2 separate regions of the Homo sapiens genome follow, and region 1 is linked to region 2. Evidence: promoter capture Hi-C in human tissues and cell types (Jung and others, 2019). All regions are on one chromosome and are shown on one strand. Each heading gives the region's core, a stretch centred on a gene start or on the middle of the fragment in contact. The rest is flanking DNA. Distances are from core to core; before and after follow the strand shown.

Region 1 (4,965 bases), core at 1,495-3,994, 260 kb after region 2:
AGGAAAAAATAGTTTTCACTTTGGCAGAGTTGGTAACTTCCTTTGAGTAAAGTAAGATATACAACCCCCTGGAGCGCAGTCTGTTAAACTGTGCTAGCCTATCCAGGTCTAGATACAGGGACATGCATGATTTCGTTTTCCACAGGCCCCTACAACTCTCTGTTGTCTTCTATCCAGCCTGATATACATGTTTATGTAATATGACTGGCCCCTGCAGATATCTGATTTTGTAATATCTGGTTTTGAGATTTTTTAGGATAAGAGAATTTGAGATATGGGAAACTCCTTTGCTATTGGGATTCTTAGAATCAGAAACCCAAAATGGATAATTTTTACCCCCTTTGTATTCTTTCTTTCTTTTTCTGAGACAGTGTCTTTCTCATAATGTATTCCCACTTGGTTTCTTTTTTTTTTTTTTTTTTTAGAGACAAGGTCTCGCTTTGTCGCTCAGGCTGGAGTGCAGTGATGCAATCTTGGCTGACTGCAACCTCAGCCTCCAGAGTTCAAGTGATTCTCCTGCCTCAGTCTCCCAAGTAGCTGGGATCACAAGCCTGTGCCACCAAGCCCGGCTAATTTTTGTATTTTTAGTAGAGATGGAGTTTCGCCATGTTAGCCAGGCTGGTCTCGAACTCCTGACCTCTGGTGATCCACCCACCTCAGCCTCCCAAACTGTTGGGATTATAGGCGTGAGCCACCACACGTAGCCCCTACTTGGTTTCTTTATTTGTTTGTTTCTTTGAGATGGAGTCTTGCTCTGTTGCCCAGGCTGGAGTGCAGTGGCACAATCTCGGCTCACTGCAACCTCTGCCTCCGAGATTCAAGCGATTCTCCTGCTTCAGCCTCCTGAGTAGCTGGGATTACAGGCACCCACCATTGCACCCAGCTAGTTTTCTTATCTTTAGTAGAGATGGGGTTTCGCCATGTTGGCCAGGCTGATCTCAAACTCCCGACCTCAACTGATCTGCCCGCCTCAGCCTCCCAAAGTGCTGGGATTACAGACCTGAGCCACCGCACCTGGCCCCATTTGTATTTTCTATATTGATTTCCTTTTTTTTCTCTCTCAAAATTTTAACAATTTTTTTAAAAAATTACTTTAAAATTTTTAATAAATTTCCTTTTGAAAACATAAGCCCTTATAAGCCTTTGCAAAAGGAAAATAAAGAAAGAGGTCTTTTTAGCTCTTCTTGAGAAAAAAAAAAAAAAAAAGAAGTGGTAACCCCTGGTTACTACAGGATTCACAGTGAGAAAACCCCAAAGAGAAGGTGAAATTCAGAAAAAACAAAATATAGTTGAGAAACATGCACAGCCATACCTTCCTCCCTGGAGATTTTCATTCCAGAGCTCAAATACTGGTACATTCATATTTTCAGTAAGGAAAACAATTCTTTTATATGCCCACGGTTAAACCGACCCCACCCATGATCTTCCTAGTCTATCAATGGCATCACTATTCTTCAAATCACATAAGCATATGACCAAGAGCCTAATATTCCTAAAGATCACCTTCATATGTCAATTCTCCAGTCAAAACTTTCAATGGCTTCCCACTATCTGCAACAGTAATTAATAAGTGCAAGGAGAATGTGCCCCATCTCCCTCCTAGGAGATGTGTCCCCACTTGAGAATCACAGCACATAATGACAGTCGTTAACAATTGAACTAAATGGAGAAATAAATGTGTTACAGGCAAAAAAAAAAAAAAAAAAAAAACAAAAAAAACTGAAAACCACCTTCAGAATAAAACACTAATCTGCCAGCCCAACATTTAAGGCCCCCACAATTTAGCCTCAAGTTATTATCTTGCTAACTTTATTTTCTACTAATCCTCATCCATTCTTATTCTTATTTTCCATCCTTTGCCCAAGTGCTTCCCACCTAAAATGTCTTCCACATAGTTTTCAATCAAAGCCTAAATCAAAGCCCAGTTCACGTCCTGCCATTTATAGAAAGCTTTTTCTAATCACTCCACTACTATGGCCCTTATTATCATTCACTAAGCACTATAAGCTCTTTGATGGCAATATTATCATACCTTATATGCTCACAGAACCTCATTCAGCCCGCATGCACCTGACCGAATACCGAAAGGATGAATTAACTGCAAGTTTTTCTAGGTCGGAGAACTGACACACATAATAGGAGGGAGCATATTCTCATGCATCTAGACTTATCCTTTTTTACGATGCCCACATGGACACTAAAAAAAAACCACCCTGAATCCTATGGCTTTCTCTACATATTGAACAACAGGTACATGGTAAAAGGGTAGCCCTTCTAACTGTGGAAGTGGAGCCCTTGTGACTCTAAGACTAATTTTCTTTCCAGGATTTTGTTAGGTACTTATTCTTTTGACTTTTGAGGTGTTAGTCTCTTAACTGGCTCTAAAAAAAGAGAGGTTCTGGGATTTCTCAATAATAAAAGATTCAAGGTTTATATACACTTCATCCCGAAGTTGGGACTGCCTTTCAGAAAACATAAATGTCAAACAAATAAGGCAGGTGGTAGAATGGGAATATAGGCTACTCATCTATTTACATGTAAGGCTGCCTATGTCTAAGGCTACCAATAGGTGATTATTTGCTGGCCTATTCATAAGAGGAGGAAAATAAAAAAGAGTGGGAAGATATGATTTCTTCTTCTATTCAACAAACACTTATAGAGTGCCTACTATGTGTGGAGGCACTGTTCTAGGCACTTGGGCTAGACCAGTGCACAAAACATACATCTTTGTCCTTGTTGAGCTTACATTCTAACAGACAGGAGATAGACCATAAACAGTAAGTATAATAAAATAAGTAAATTTTATGGCAATATGTTGGAAACTAGGTGCTATAGAAAAAATAAAAAGTAGAGGATGGTAAGATGAAATGGGAGTGCTAAGGTGCAGGGGGGACAAATGGAGCTTACAACTTTAAATGAGTAGTCAGGGTAAACTCTATTGGGAAGGTAACATTTGAAAAAAGACATTGTTGTAGTCCATGTAGATGGATGTAGTCTATGTAGATATGTCTCCAAATTCTTTGACACAGCTCCCCTTAAGAGGTGAAGTTTAATTAATTACCTTCCACTTAAGTGTGACCCAGACTTAGTGACTCATTTCTAATAAAAAGAATACAGTGAGATAGTGATAGAATGTAACTTCTGAAATTAGGTTATAAAAGGACTGCAGGTCCATTTGGTCTTGGTTTCGTTTCTCATTTTCTTTTCTTTTTCTTTTTTTTTTGAGACAGAGTCTCATTCTGTTGCCCAGGCTGGAGTGCAGTGGTGTGATCTCAGCTCACTGCAACCTCTGCCTCCCGGGTTCAAGCAATTCTCCCACCTCAGCCTCCTGAGTAGCTGGGATTACAGGTGCATGCCACCATGTCCAGCTAATTTTTGTATTTTTAGTAGAGACGAAGTTTCACCATGTTGGCCAGGCTGGTCTTGAACTCTTAACCTCAGGTGATCTGCCCGCCTCAGCCTCCAAAAGTGCTGGGATTACAGGCATGAGCCACCCCACCTGGCCTTGGTCTTTGTCTCTTGGATCACTGGCTCTGGAGGAAACCAGGTCCTGTGAGTAGCCCTATGGACAGGCCACATAGCAAGAAATGGCACCTCCTGCCAACAGCCACATGAGAAAGCTTGGATATGAATTATCCGGATGTTACAATGACTGCGTTACCAGCTGACATATTGACTGCAACATCATGAGAGACACTGAGCCAGAATCACACCCACTAAGCTGCTCCCAGATTCCTGACCCTCAGAAACCATGCAAGATAATAAATGTGTTTTTGGTTTTTTGGGGTTTTTTGTTTTTGTTTTTGTTTTCTGAGACAGAGTCTCGCTCTTTCGCCCAGACTGGAGTGCAGTGGCACGATCTCGGCTCACTGCAAGCTCTGAGACCTCCCAGGTTCACGCCATTCTCCCGCCTCAGCCTCCCAAGTAGCTAGGACTACAGGCGCCTGCCACCACACCCGGCTAATTTTTTGTATTTTTATTAGAGACAGGGTTTCACCGTGTTAGCCAGGATGGTCTTGATTTCCTGACCTCATGATCCATCTGCCTTGGCCTCCCAAAGTGCTGCGATTACAGGCGTAAGCCACCGCACCCAGCCTGTTATTTTAAGCCATTAAATTTTGGGACAATTTGTTACACAGCAATGGATAACTAATACAGACTTTAAGGAAGTGAGGAAGTTGGCCACACAAATATCTGAAGAAAGAACATTCCAGGCAGAGGGAACAGCCAATGTAAAGGCCTAAAGGCAGTGTTAGAGTGTTAGAAAAACACTTAAGAGTGTTAGAAAAACAGCAAGAGGCCAGTGTGGCTGCAGTGGAGTGAATGAGGGAGGAAGTTGTAGGAGATGAGGTCAGAAAGGTAAGAGAGTTCTATAAGATCATATAGGGTTTTATAGGCCATGGTAAAGTCTTTGGATTTTACTCTATAAATGAAGTGTTAAGCCAGTGAAGGGCTTTGAGCAGAAGAATATCACGATGTGCCTTGCAACTTAATAAGATAGCTTTGTTGATAATAGGCCAGGAGGGGGTAGGAGTAGCTGCAGGATACAAATAAGGAGGCTTTTGCCATAATGCAGGTAGGAGATGATGGTGGCTCCAGTATGGTAGCAGCAGAGGTGAGATTACGGGCATAGTTTTAAGGTAAAGCCAACAGGATTTCCTGATGGACTTTGGCTGTAGGAAGTGAGAGGACAGCAGTCAGGATGACTCCAAGGTTTTTTCACCCAACTAAAAGTGAAAGAATGAACCTTCCATCAACTTAGATGGGAGGGGGTTGTTGGAAAAGTAAATCTGGGCATACGACTGGAAGTTCAATTTTGGACGTGTTGAATTTAAGATATTTTTTAAACTTCTTCATGAAAATGTTAAACAAGCAGTCTGGAGTTTCAGGGTAAGACCTACAGTGAAGAATAAATGTGAGATTCATCCACAAGGTGGTATTTAAAGATGTTATAGTGGAATGCCA
Region 2 (4,707 bases), core at 2,205-4,704:
GGACTTCTAGCCTTATCTTCTTTGAGCCCAGAGATAGATCTGTGCTGTTGCCCTGCTGCCTGGGAAGGGGCCGGAAGTAGAGTTCCCACCACCACCCACCCCTGCTCATCCAGCTGCTCAGCCTCAGGCAGTCTGAGCCATCAAAGTCCCCTGCTGGCTGAATGGCAGGGGACATGTGGAACTGGGGAGATGGGGGAAGTGCAAAGAGGCACCCCAGATGTGTGTGTGACCACATCAGGAACAGGCGGAACACAGGCAGATGGGTGAGGAGGCCGAGTGGAAGGCCTAGGATCAGCCTGAGGCCACGGGCTCGGGGAACAATTCCCTTCCCTTTCAATGACCAAACACATTGGGAGTTTGGGGAGACTGCAGCAGCAAGCCATTCCCCCTTACCTTGCTGAGGGTTGGTGGCCTCTGAGGCCTGGACAATGGAATGAAGAGCCTCCTTATTGGTCTGTGGCTCCTTGGCGTTCTTCTTCAGCAAGACAAACTTCTCCAGCTGGGCACCAGGACTGGGCTGGGGCTGGACTGGGCTAGGCTGGGGCTGTGAGGGTCCCACCTGTTCTCACCCCCATGCTTCCCCGGCCCTTCCTCCCTGTGACCTTCTCCAGAGCTGCCACAGCTGGAACCATTCTCCAAGCTGCCTTTCATCCCCAGTGCTCCCCCGCCCCCCAGTGGCCCCTGTAATTGTGGTCTTAGGCGGCGGCTGCGGGGGCTGGGGCTGGGCTGAGGGCCAGGGCCCAGGGCAGGGCCAGGGTGGGGACTAGGGGGTGCTGATAGGGGCTTGGCCATGGTGTGGGTCATTTGGGGCTGGGACCCCAGGGGCAGACAGTCTCTGGGCCTCACCTACATACATGCCAAGGCTCTGGACCAACACAGACTCTCCCCTCCCTTCACTGAGAAGTGCTCTGACTTGGGCACTCCTAGACCCTCCTGACACCAGGGCAGAGCCACGCCTGAGTGCAAGCCTCAGTATCACTATTTGCCTCCGGAGGCTTTTTTGTTTTTTTTTAAGAAAGGGTTTTCTCGGTCTCCTTTGCACCTCTGTATTTCACAGACAGTGGAGGTGGGGAAGAAAAGAGACCCCCTCATCAGAGAGATGCCAAAGGAAACTAAATCAGCTCCTCAACCAGGTCAGCAGCGTTTCCCAAAAGGAGTCCCCACCAGAATCACTGGGGATGCTAGCTAGAAAGACAGACACCCAGGCCTTTCCCTGGAAAGGCTGATTCAACTTCATGGGGCCTGGAATCCGCATTCCCACAATGGCCCACCCCAGGGGACACTTGTGCTGCATCAAGCGTGGGAAATGCTAGTGTGAGCGCGTGATGGGGAATAAGGACATCTGTAAGCTGATTATGAGTCCCTTCCCTGTGTCACGTTCCTAATTCTTTCTGGGCCTCAGTTTCCCCAACAGCCAATAAGAATATGACTCTCCAGCTTGCTGGTGTCCTCTCTCATCCTGGGCTGGTGCCTGTCTCCTGTCTTGAGTCTGGTCCCACCCTTACCCTTACCGCTTACCCTTCCCAAATGCTAGTCCCAAGCTGTCCCCGTTTCTGCAGCATGGTAGGGAGAGTGGGGAGGGCAGGGGGCAGTTGGGGTCAAATAAGGCTCTAGCTGACGCAGTCTGCTTGCTGCCCCTGGCTGTTTTCCTGCAGTCCAGCCAGACTGCTCCCCCCCCACTGCCCCACCCCCACCCCCAGCAGCCTCAAGCCCTTAATTCCTGACAGCTGCGGTGGCTGCCGGCAGAGATGAGGGGGAAAGGAGGGGGGAGTATGCCGTCAGCCTGCTGTTGCTCAGGCCGCCCCCACCACCTGACAGTCTGGGGACAAGGAGGGCCCCACCCCCTCCTTCAGTTCCCCAGGGATGGGCAATTCCAGGAATGGGCCTTTTTTGTCTCTGAGCCCAGAGGCTCCCATAGTTTTGTTCCTAAGCCAGCAGGGGCTCTCTTCAGAGAGAGGGGCATGTTTGTGTAAAGGCTTGTGCCCATTTTACAGAGGAGGATGCCGAGGGCACAGGGCAGGAGCACGATCCACTATCAGGGCCCAGGCTAGCACCAGAAACAGACGGCAGAGCTGCCTTTCCCCTGCCCTCTGGCTCTCAGGCCCTTGCTTGGGCCCAGCACACTTGCACTATATCGAGGAGGGGCCCAGTGTTCAGTTGGGGTGGAGGGACAGGAAGATCTCAGCGAGAAGTAGACCTGAGCCAGGAGGCTGGTATTAGGGACCTCCTAGAGGACCATGTGCAGGTGGGGCCAGGGAGGGCCAGGACAAGACTGAGAGTATCTGCGGGCACAGGCAGGCAACACTCAGTGTTGGGGAGGCAGCTGCTGCGCTGGGAGTCAGGAGAGCTGCGTTCGGTTCTCGCTCTTCCGCTAATTTGCTGTGTGACCTCTTTGAGCCTCGATATTTTCTTGTGAAATAAAGGGGAGCTAAATAAACTATCTCAACGGCCACTTCTAGGGTTAAAAGTCTCTCTAACGCCTCCTCCCAGGACGTGCCACCCCGGGCGCTCCTACGCAAGCATTTTCTGGGGGCCTGACACTGCTGCCTCCCCGGGCTCACTGAGGAGACAAGGTGGTCCCCATGAGCCGCATTCCGCAAAGGGGCAGAGGAGGTCTCCGTGAGCAGGAGCAGGAGGCACCTGTTTAAGGTCACACAGCAAAGGGGAGAAGAAACCAGAGGCTGCCAAACTCCTCTGCAGGAGCCCACACCTGCCTCACACCAGGCAGGCCTGGGGGAAGTCCCTCCTCTGGCGGAGGAGGCGAAACACAGAGGCCAGCCCCTCCCCTCCAGCCCCTGCAGGTGTGTGTGTTGGGGTGGGATGGGGGCGCTCCCCAGCAGCTGCGTCTCTGCCAGGCACACACACCTCGCGGTAACACATATCCCCCACACAACCCAGCGCGCTCCACACACAGGCATCTTCCTGTGCACGCGCGCACAGACCCCAACACCTTTCCCTCTGTTGCCCTCAGCAGGGACGCTCCCACCCCCAGTCCCCAGCGGACGCAGTGGCCTCGGGACTCGTACACGCCTCCACGCCCCGCCGCGTGACGTCACGTGGGGTAGAGCCCTGAGACACTAAATGGCGGGGGGGTGGGGGGAGGAAAGGGAAGGCGGCAGAGCTCCCCGAGCCGGGACAGTCACTTACTCTACAGGCAGTGGGGCCCGACACAGACAGCGCCGCCCCCGCCAGCCAGCCTCGCACGCCCTCGGAAGCGCAGGCTCCCGGCGCTGCGCTGGAGGGTTCCCCGGCACCCCAGCCTCCCGTCCCCAGCCCGCTGCACCTCCGGGCCCCCCTTACCCTTGAGAGGCACCGGGAGTTGTCGCGGGGGGGCCTCGGGAAATTCCCCGGACCCCTGTGCCAGGAGGTGCCCGGTTCGCCCGCTCTTCACCCCCCGCCCCCCCCGAGGGCGGTGCCCGGGGGTGCTGCCCCATGGAGCGGGGAGGCGGGCGCCGTCTGCTCCGGGAGCCCTGACCCGAGTCGGAGCTGTGTGTCGCAGCCGCCCCGACCCCCCGCCGATCATGCGCCGGCGCCCCTGGCTCTCCAGTCCCACTGGGCTGTGAGCCCCCCACTCCCAGCCCGTCAGGGCCTGCGCGCCATGGGCAGCGCCCACCCTCGCCCCTGGCTGCGGCTCCGACCCCAGCCCCAGCCGCGGCCAGCGCTCTGGGTGCTCCTGTTCTTCCTACTGCTGCTGGCTGCTGCCATGCCCAGGTGAGCCCTCACCTCATGCTCCGCCCTCCTAGAGAGTTGGGACCCCGGCCTGCAGGGGCCTCTGATGCTCTTGCTGGGGTAGAGGACCCTGGAAGAAGGGAGGGACAGGGTCATAGGAAAGTGCTGGTGCCCAACCAAAGGCAGTGAGCTCCCTCATAGGAGGGGGTTGGACTGGTGACAGGATATGGGCAGTCCAGGGAGACAAGGCAGTGCCCAGGAGCATGATGGCAACTAGGAGGGGAGGTGTGTGTGGGGGGGGAGCAAGTGCCAGTCTGGAGTTCCTGCCCTGTTGGGGGAATGCACCCCCACCTCAGGAGTAAGCACAAGCTGCCTCACTCCTTCCTGCAGCTCAGCCCCAGGTAGGGGCAGGGGTTGGGAGGCTGGAAGGGGGTAGCCCAGGTGGGGTCAGTGAGAGACTGCAGCTGCAAGAGCTGTGTGTGTGTGTGTGTGTGTGTGTGTGTTTTCAATCGAGCCCAGGATCCCAGCAAACTGTGTTGGTAAACAGTAGTTTGTATGTGTGCCCATGTGTGCATGTGAGAGCTCATGGGTCAATGTATGTTAAGATGAACACATGTGTAAATGGGAGTGTCTTTGTGTGTGTGTCTGTAACTATGTCTGATGAAGTGTGCATGTGCGTAAGTGTGCTGGGGTTGGGTTTGTGTGTCCACCACAATGTGTGCAGAAGTGTGTCTATGTGAATGTGACTGAAACATATCTGTGGGAGTGGGCTTGTGGGGAACCCTGTGTGTATGGGCATCTATTCCTGGGGATGTGCATAGGAAATACTGTGGCCACAAGCATGGTGGATGTGTGTGCATTTGCACGCTTACCTGTGTGGGTGTGCAGCTAGCTGAGTGAGTTGCACTGGGCAGGATGATTGTGAGGAGGTCAAGGAGAGAGGAATGTGTAGGAGTGTACTGATGGGCCCAACCTTCAGAAGCAGAGGTTGGAAGAGGGAGTGATTATGGCCGTTGGGACAGAGTGTGTGTTGTTAGA

Evidence for each region. Contacts are between HindIII fragments. The study calls those that stand out against the background at their distance.
Region 1: a fragment that was not itself captured here is called in contact with the fragment with the promoter of WNT10A in region 2 in 1 of the 25 tissues and cell types used here (aorta).

What each region holds. Positions count from the first base shown.
Region 1 is chr2:219,135,883-219,140,847 of GRCh38, forward strand. All of the region lies in intron 5 of NHEJ1 (non-homologous end joining factor 1), which reads right to left. Among named protein-coding and RNA genes, the nearest start is that of NHEJ1, 22 kb to the right of the region's middle. The HindIII fragment of the contact is 4,149 bases long and covers 671-4,819 here.
Region 2 is chr2:218,877,398-218,882,104 of GRCh38, forward strand. It overlaps WNT10A (Wnt family member 10A), which reads left to right and starts at 3,455. Exons shown (of 4, transcript NM_025216.3): 1 at 3,455-3,711. The coding sequence starts at 3,599. RefSeq lists silencers at 2,881-2,940, 3,161-3,370, 3,391-3,530. The HindIII fragment of the contact is 13,021 bases long and covers 1-4,707 here.